Linked DNA regions of Homo sapiens: region 1 is linked to region 2. The links are contacts of gene promoters, found by promoter capture Hi-C in human tissues and cell types (Jung and others, 2019). All regions are on one chromosome and are shown on one strand. Each heading gives the region's core, a stretch centred on a gene start or on the middle of the fragment in contact. The rest is flanking DNA. Distances are from core to core; before and after follow the strand shown.

Region 1 (3,670 bases), core at 589-3,088, 520 kb after region 2:
CTCCACTTCCCTCCCTTCCTCTCTCACTTCTCACCAAAAGTAGTAAATGCCACTTGGTGAATATATCAATAGGGGCAATATTTGCCATCTTGGCAAATAAAAACCTACTACTTAGCATTCAGATATATTAGAAACCAGAACCTTTTAAATTAATCATTTAAAGAATTACTAGGTCCATTATTTTAGTATGTTGTATATCTTTGTTTGAATATTTTATTGCATTAAGTAGACTACCTTTTTCAGAGAAACACAGTTTATACTATATTTGTTTTTATGAGATCTGCCCATATAGAAATCTCATCACTTCTGTTGTACAGTAATACAGCAACTATATTTATGTTTATCTGGGCTTCATATTAAAGAACAAAAATGATTTTACCTTAAGTGGGATATAAAATAAAGGACCTTAGGAAGATGGATAATATATAAACACCAACTAGGACATAATGGGAAAGTCTTGTTTTTTCCAGGTCTAGCTATTTTTGATGCCAGCGGGTTTTAATTATGAAAGGAATGCTTTTTCCATATATTTCCCCTTTACTCTTTCAACACTAATTAATTTGTGAGCATGTCAATTCCATATTTAGTTAATTGAAAAGAATATCAAGAGGATTGAGTACTTCTAAAATTAAATTTTTAATGAAAGTCATTTAAATTAAAGTAGATTGTAGATTAAGTGTTTAAAAATTAAGTCAAGTTTTATTAGAAAGGGCAAAACCACTGGGATTTTAGAAGATGGCTCAAATTAGAGCAAGAATAATTTTTAAAGTGTGTAACTTTCATTTTATATTTTGTGACGACAACTTTGCTAAGAAAAAATTGTACTAACAATTATTTAATTGCGTGCGGTTAATTCATAAATGGAAATGCAACTAATTAATATGTAAATACAAATGTCACATTCCCACTGTGCACATAAAACCACACATGTAATATTTAGATATATTGATTATATAATGCATTTTATTTAGATAATAGGAATTCTATGCAATAGAAAAAGGATTTTTTATACTTACAGAAATTTTCTGGATGACAAAAGTATAAATAGGCTGGGCGTGGTGGCTCATGCCTGTAATCCCAGCTCTTTGGGTGGCCGAGGTGGGTGGATCACTTGAGGTCAGGAGTTCAACACTAGCCTGGCCAACGTGGTGAAACCCCATCTCTACTAAAAATACAAAAATTAGCGGGGCGTGTTGGCAAACGCTTATAATCCCAGCTGCTGTGGAAGCTGAGGTAGGAGAGTCGCTTGAACCTGGGAGGCAGAGGTTGCAGTGAGCAGAAATCGCACCACCGCACTCCAGCCTGGGCAACAGAATGAGACTACATCTCAAAAAAAAAAAAAAAGAAAAGAAAAAAAAGAAAAGGTATAAAAATACTAATGAAGTTCCATACACCCATCAGCCAGTTTCAGAACTGTCAACTTTCTGCAGCTGCAGAAGTAATTTTGGTTATAAATAATAAGTTCAAGGGTATAGTTGAGTCTATTTACACCTTAGAATGTCTATTTTGGAGCCTACACAGATGTGTTTGTTGGCATGAACCTACAGGGCGGAGCCTGTGAGATGTTTATCTTATGCTTGTGTTGAAGTCATATTAATGGAAAACATCACCTTAAACTAATTTAAGTTCTTTTTTAGAACAAGATCAGGATACCACATACATAATAACAAAAATAGAGGTACAGATAAACCCAACAACTTAAACTGCTTTATAATACTACAATTTCTGGGAAAAATATATCTCCTTTAGATAAATTATTTTCCTTTAATTTTATACCCTGGGAATAATAGAGAGCAGTCAGTTAAGACTTCCACATGACACAGTTTTACAATTTTAGGAAATAAGTGCTCATAATCAAGATTTTCAGTCTGTTAAGTATTGGGCAGTAGAGCAGCAACATTCGTGTTCTCCTGTGGGGGAGTGGAAGTGGCTTTTATTTATTTGAAAGCTTCCCTGCATTGTTACAGAGCAGTTAAAGTAGACATTACTGTGTTGCTGTAAGATCACACACTGTGCAATGTAAAGGTTTTTCAGATCTTCACTAAAAACTATGTTTCTTCATCATTTTAACTATTTTTCTAATGTTTTATCCGTTTAGTTTATATAGGCAAGAAGCAGCATATTTGCCAGCGGGGAAGAGTATGCTGTAATTGGGAGCAGAGACCAAAAATCTGTTTAAAAAAGTAGAGTAATTGGGGCTATTCAGTTTTGGAAACAAGAGCCTGCTGAAATAAAATAATACATATTTTCTGCAGCATCATGGATGAGTGTAATTGTTACTATATAGGCGCCTTTAGATCTTTGAGTAGTAACCGAATTATGGTTATTATTCTCATAGGAACTCAGGGAAGGTCAATATGCTTCAGCTAAAACATTGTCTAACAATGTTTAAAGACAAAAAGCATTTTGGTACTTGATTCCTCCATTTATGACATTTTCATATAAGAGATTTTATCATGACTTTCTGATAGCACTGTTTAAATTTATTTTATAAACAGTTATCAATTGATTGTATACTTACTGTGTACTTGATATTGATGTAGGCTCTGGAGATACTGCATTGAAGTAAATCAAACCCCTGACATCACGGAACTGAGGTTCCTAGTGGAGCAGAAAAGATTGATATTTGGATCAATGTTACTTTATTTAGTATGCTGGACATGATGAGGATGGGTGCTAGACAGCTCTGGCTTTGGAGTCAAAAGGAGGGGTGACATTAGAGTCAGGACAGCCTGCAAAGATTTCTTCAGTGTAGAGGTGCCCCAGATGCTCTGTCATGGGCACAGGCTTGGTGCAGGGAAAGGCAGGGTCCACGGTATAGTAAGGCACAGTAAGTAAGTAAAATATAACAGTGTAGAAGTATAGCAAATAGCATAGGAGTTTGGATTTTCTTTTAGAGGTTGTGGAGATTAGAGTGGAGCTGTGAGATCATCTGACTTAGTGGTTGGAAAGATCTCTGGAAGCTTTGTGGGGCCTTGTGGGGAATGGACAATAGGCATGTAAAGGTGGAAGCAGAAGTCTCTGTACTTGTGGTCTTGGTAAGGGATAATGGTGGGATAATGATAGCTCATGCTAGATTTAACAGGAGAGATGGTGAATTTGGTCAGTTCTGGAGGATGTATTTTGGAAACAGGTGATGGCGGAAAGATGTATGTGAAGAAAAGAGAGAAGTCAGGAATGATGACTCTAAGGTTGTTACTGTATTAGTCTGTTCTCACTATAAGGCCATACCCGAGACTGGGTAATTTATAAAGGAAAGAAGTTTAATTGACTCATAGTTCCGCATGGCTGGGGAGGCCTCAGAAAACTTACAATCATGGCAGAAGGGGAAGCAAACACATCTTTTTTCACAAGTGGCAGGAGAGAGAAGAATGAGTGCCCAGCGAAGGGGGAAGCCCCTTATAAAACCATCAGATCATTTAAGAACTCACTAACACCAGAACAGGACTGGGGGAACCAGCCCCATAATTCAGTTATCACCACTGATCCCTCTCATGACATGTGGGGATTATGGGAACTGCAATTCAAGATAAGATTTGGGTGGAGATACAGCCAAACCATATCAGGGTACTAATTCTGGGAAAGCATATTTTGGGGGAGAAATTCATATTCTGTCTTAGATATTGTAAGCATGAGGTGGCTGTTACATATTCAAGTGGCAGCACTGAGT
Region 2 (3,829 bases), core at 766-3,265:
TTTCTTTCAAAGTAATCAGTTTTCAAACTACAGCACTGGCTCTTTCACGGAACCTAAGAAATTCTTTAATATTGAGTAGACTTTGAAGAAACAGGTCTGCTAGAAAAATATCCATTATGTCTGAGATATGACAAATCAGTATAGTTGTTTTCTTTTTTTTTTTTTTTTTTTGAGACGGAGTTTCGCTCGTTTCCCAGGCTGGAGTGCAATGGCGCGATCTTGGTTCACTGCAACCTCCGCCTCCCGGGTTCAAGTGATTCTCCTGCCTCAGCCTCCTTAGTAGCTGGGATTACAGTCATGCGCCACCACGCACAGCTAATTTTGTATTTTTAGTAGAAACAGGGTTTCTCCATGTTGGTCACGCTGGTCTCGAACTCCTGACCTCAGGTGATCCGCCTGCCTCAGCCTCCCAAAGTGCTGGGATTACAGGCGTGAGCCACCGTGCTTGGCCCAGGATTGCTGTTTTCTATGAAAATACACTAGAGTCTCAGCTCAACAAGATGACTTGGACCCCTTGACACTAAGCGCCAGATATATCTGAGAGATTTCATCATAAATAATTCTTACTGCTATTTGGGTAACATGGGCATTGACCTGTGAACACTTTAAACAATGAAAATGTATAGATCAAAGAACAGAAACTCTGAGCTCTGACAAATAACATTAAAAAATCACACACAAATGCAGAAAACACTCAGCTCCTGGTGGAAAATTCACTTTTCAGCCAAACGTTTTCTTCACCAATGATATAAAATAAAACAGTGTTCCTCAATAACACATTAGCACTTCATTCTACATATTTACTTGCAATCAGTTTGTTCTGCAAAAATAAAAGCTGGTTAAGCACTCTAGTCATCCTTAAAAAAAAATACTTGCGGAGCAATGAGATAATCTAGTTCATCCCCTAGTTTCCAATCTGCAGGAAAGGTCAGGCCACAGAACTCTCCCAGGTTACACTCTACATACCTCATTCCACTTGACCCACTCAAGAGAACATAAAACTCCCCTTCCCTGTCTTCTCCCCTCCAGTGGTGTGTGAGTTACGGTTGGGAGGTGGGGTGCTAGTTTCTGGGGATTCGAGATTTAACAGAAACTATCCTAAGTATGCATTCTAGCAATCATACAAAGGGAGGAGTCCTGAACTAAACCGTCAAAGAAGCCAATCCACGTGACCTAAACCCTTCAAGCTGGGTCCAGCGCTAAGCAGGCCTGGGGCAGACAATGGCATTATCAGCTGTCCCTGGGCAGGTGGCCAACTAGAACAGCAGGCTCTAAGTCCCATGGAAAGAAATCACAGCCTGATCTCAAGTACCCACAGAAAGCCAGCAAACTCATGCAGTGAAAACTATTCTCCGAAACCCATGCAATGAAAACTATTCTCCGATGGGAAAGGAGGAGGCAGAGAGCCAGCAACAGGCAGCGCAGAGCTGCGTGGCTTCGGGTTACTGCGGATGATTGAAACCAGAAGGCGAGACAAAAAGAAACCAGTGAGGGGTGGGGCGGGTGGAAGGAAAACCCCTTAAGACTCCTCACCACTAAATCTAAAGGGGGAACCCTCAGAGAGGGGTGGCACTTTAGCTGCTGGCATCCCCCCCGCTTCCCGCCCGCACGCTCTGGGGCGCAGAAGGGCCGGTCGTCCCGGGTCATGGGGGTTGGGGGACCGATTCCCTAGCCTCGCGAGCCCCGCCGCCGCCGGTCTTCCCAGAGGCGCCGAGGGGGGACGCGGTCCCGACACCACACTCACGTCTCCGATCTGCAGCTCCACTTCCTCCAGCTGGTCCACCGTTGGGCCGCTGCTCCTGCTCGGAACTGGCCAGCCCAAACTCACTGGGCCGCCCGGGGAAGATGCTGCAGAGGCGTCTGAAGAGGAGGGAGAAGAGGGAGGCGGCGGGGGCGGCGAAGAAACCTGCAACTCCTCAGGGTCGGCCATGGGGAAGGGTTGGGACCGCGGAATCCGACCCGAGAAGCCGAACCGACACCAACTGTCTTTTAACCACTCGCGCCCAAAGCCGAAAGGCCCCGCCTCCTAACGCCAGAAATCCCGCCCAGTCTCCTCGTGGGTCTCAGCCCCGGACCACAAAGACGTTTCATTTTTCGGGACAGCCAATCATATGAGTCAATTCACCTTAGGCAACTCACGGCTCCTGCGCGAGCCTCCAATCGATCTCGAAGGGCACTCGTAGAGAAAACTACACCTCCCAGGAAGCCGTGTGCGTCGCCCCGCCTTCTACTGCCTTTCACTGCGCGTGCGTCGTGCTGTGGGATTCGCGGACCCCTCTGGCCGCGCTGTGGCTGTTTCACCGCTCCCCGGCTGGGACTTGGAGTCCCTTATCTTTCCCTGGTTTGGTACATGACCCGGAAGCCTCGGCTGGCCGTTGCGTCATCCATGGCGCCGGCGCAGAGCGAGAAGGAGGTGGGAACGCCGTGAAGCAAGAGCGGTCGGCAGAGCGGGGAGGCGAACTGCAGCAGAGTTCTTGCTTTCCGGCAGGTGATGGCGCCCCCCGCGGCCTAGAGGTCCAGCGCCCGCCGCGAGCAGCGGACAGTCCTCCTGTTGTGTCCGACCGAGAGTCCTGGTGACTTTGAACATGCTGGTGCCGCTAGCCAAGCTGTCCTGCCTGGGTGAGAGGAAACGGGCGGTGGGGATAAGTGGAGGAGTTAGGGCAAAAGGGACAAGGCCGGTCCTGGGGGCTGTAGGCACCTCTCGCCCCTTCTCTCATCAGCTTTCTCAGGCTATCTAGGGCAAAGGTCACGCGCTGTCAGCCTGTTGGGGGACCCTGGCTTCCTCCCTCTGGGGTTGCCCCAGTTGGTAGAATTAATATCTAGGCTAAAGGTCAAGGGCGGGGAAAACTTGTCAACACGCCCTCGGCATCACCACCACCTGTCAACACACACACACCTCGGTGGACTCCTGAACTGAGGCTTCCCAAATCCTGGTTCTAATCTTCAAACCTCTGTTGGAAATGGAAAAAAAAAAATCGTATTTGCCCAGTTTTTCTCCCTGGTCCTGACCTGACTTTCGTCTTCGGAGCCATTCTAGTTCAGTCTAAAGAAATTGAAGTCTGATCTGTCACATCATGGTTAACATTCATATGTTGACCAAGTCACCCAAGTGTATCTGGAGCCAGTTTTTCTGCGTTGTCTAAAATTAAGGGCTGGGCGTGGTGGCTCAAGCCTGTAATCCCAGCACTCTGGGAGGCTGAGGCGGATGGATCACCTGAGGTCAGGAGTTCAAGACCAGCCTGGCCAACATTGTGAAACCCCATCTCTACTAAAAATACAAAAATTAGCTGGGCGTTGTGGCCCACTCCTGTAATCCCAGCTACTCAGGAGGCTTAGGTAGGAGAATCACTTGAACCCGGAGGTGGAGGTTGCAGTGAGCTGAGATCGCACCACTGCACTCCAGCCTAGGTGAAAGAGCCAGACTCCGTCTCAAAAAAAAATTAAATTAAATTAACTCTAAGGGCTTTATCGTGTTATGGGTATTCTGTGAACCATCGTGACAGATGAAGTTGGATGGTCTTTTTAAAGTTTTACTTAAATTTTTGTTGTTGTCGTTAATTCAAACAGAAAAGTTCCCTAAAGGATCTCATATTCTGTCATAACTGGCTTAATTTTTTTAAATCTTTAGTTTACTTAAGTTTTGGTGATAGAATCATTAAGTCTAAATATTCCAAATTCAAGGATATTCTTATGAAATTTCATGAAAGTAGAATTTTGTTAAATTTGGCTTCCATATATTAAGAAATTAGAACTTTGTTTAAATTTCATGTCACCCATGCATTTTTTGCTGCACTTAATGTATGGATAAGATGGTGTTTGGAACGTTAAA

The links. The method cuts DNA at HindIII sites, captures the fragments that hold promoters and counts their contacts. A contact is called where the count stands out against the background at its distance.
Region 1: a fragment that was not itself captured here is called in contact with the fragment with the promoter of C4orf46 in region 2 in 1 of the 25 tissues and cell types used here (lymphoblastoid cells).

The regions. Positions count from the first base shown.
Region 1 is chr4:159,187,335-159,191,004 of GRCh38, forward strand. The region is part of intron 2 of RAPGEF2 (Rap guanine nucleotide exchange factor 2); the gene reads left to right. Among named protein-coding and RNA genes, the nearest start is that of MIR3688-1, 60 kb to the left of the region's middle. The HindIII fragment of the contact is 3,893 bases long and covers 1-3,670 here.
Region 2 is chr4:158,669,872-158,673,700 of GRCh38, forward strand. C4orf46 (chromosome 4 open reading frame 46) reads right to left here and starts at 2,016. Exons shown (of 2, transcript NM_001008393.4): 1 at 1,745-2,016. The coding sequence starts at 1,930. It overlaps ETFDH (electron transfer flavoprotein dehydrogenase), which reads left to right and starts at 2,425. Exons shown (of 13, transcript NM_004453.4): 1 at 2,425-2,619. The coding sequence starts at 2,586. RefSeq lists enhancers at 995-1,631, 1,632-2,268, 2,111-2,670, 2,272-2,773 and a silencer at 1,621-1,690. The HindIII fragment of the contact is 11,975 bases long and covers 1-3,829 here.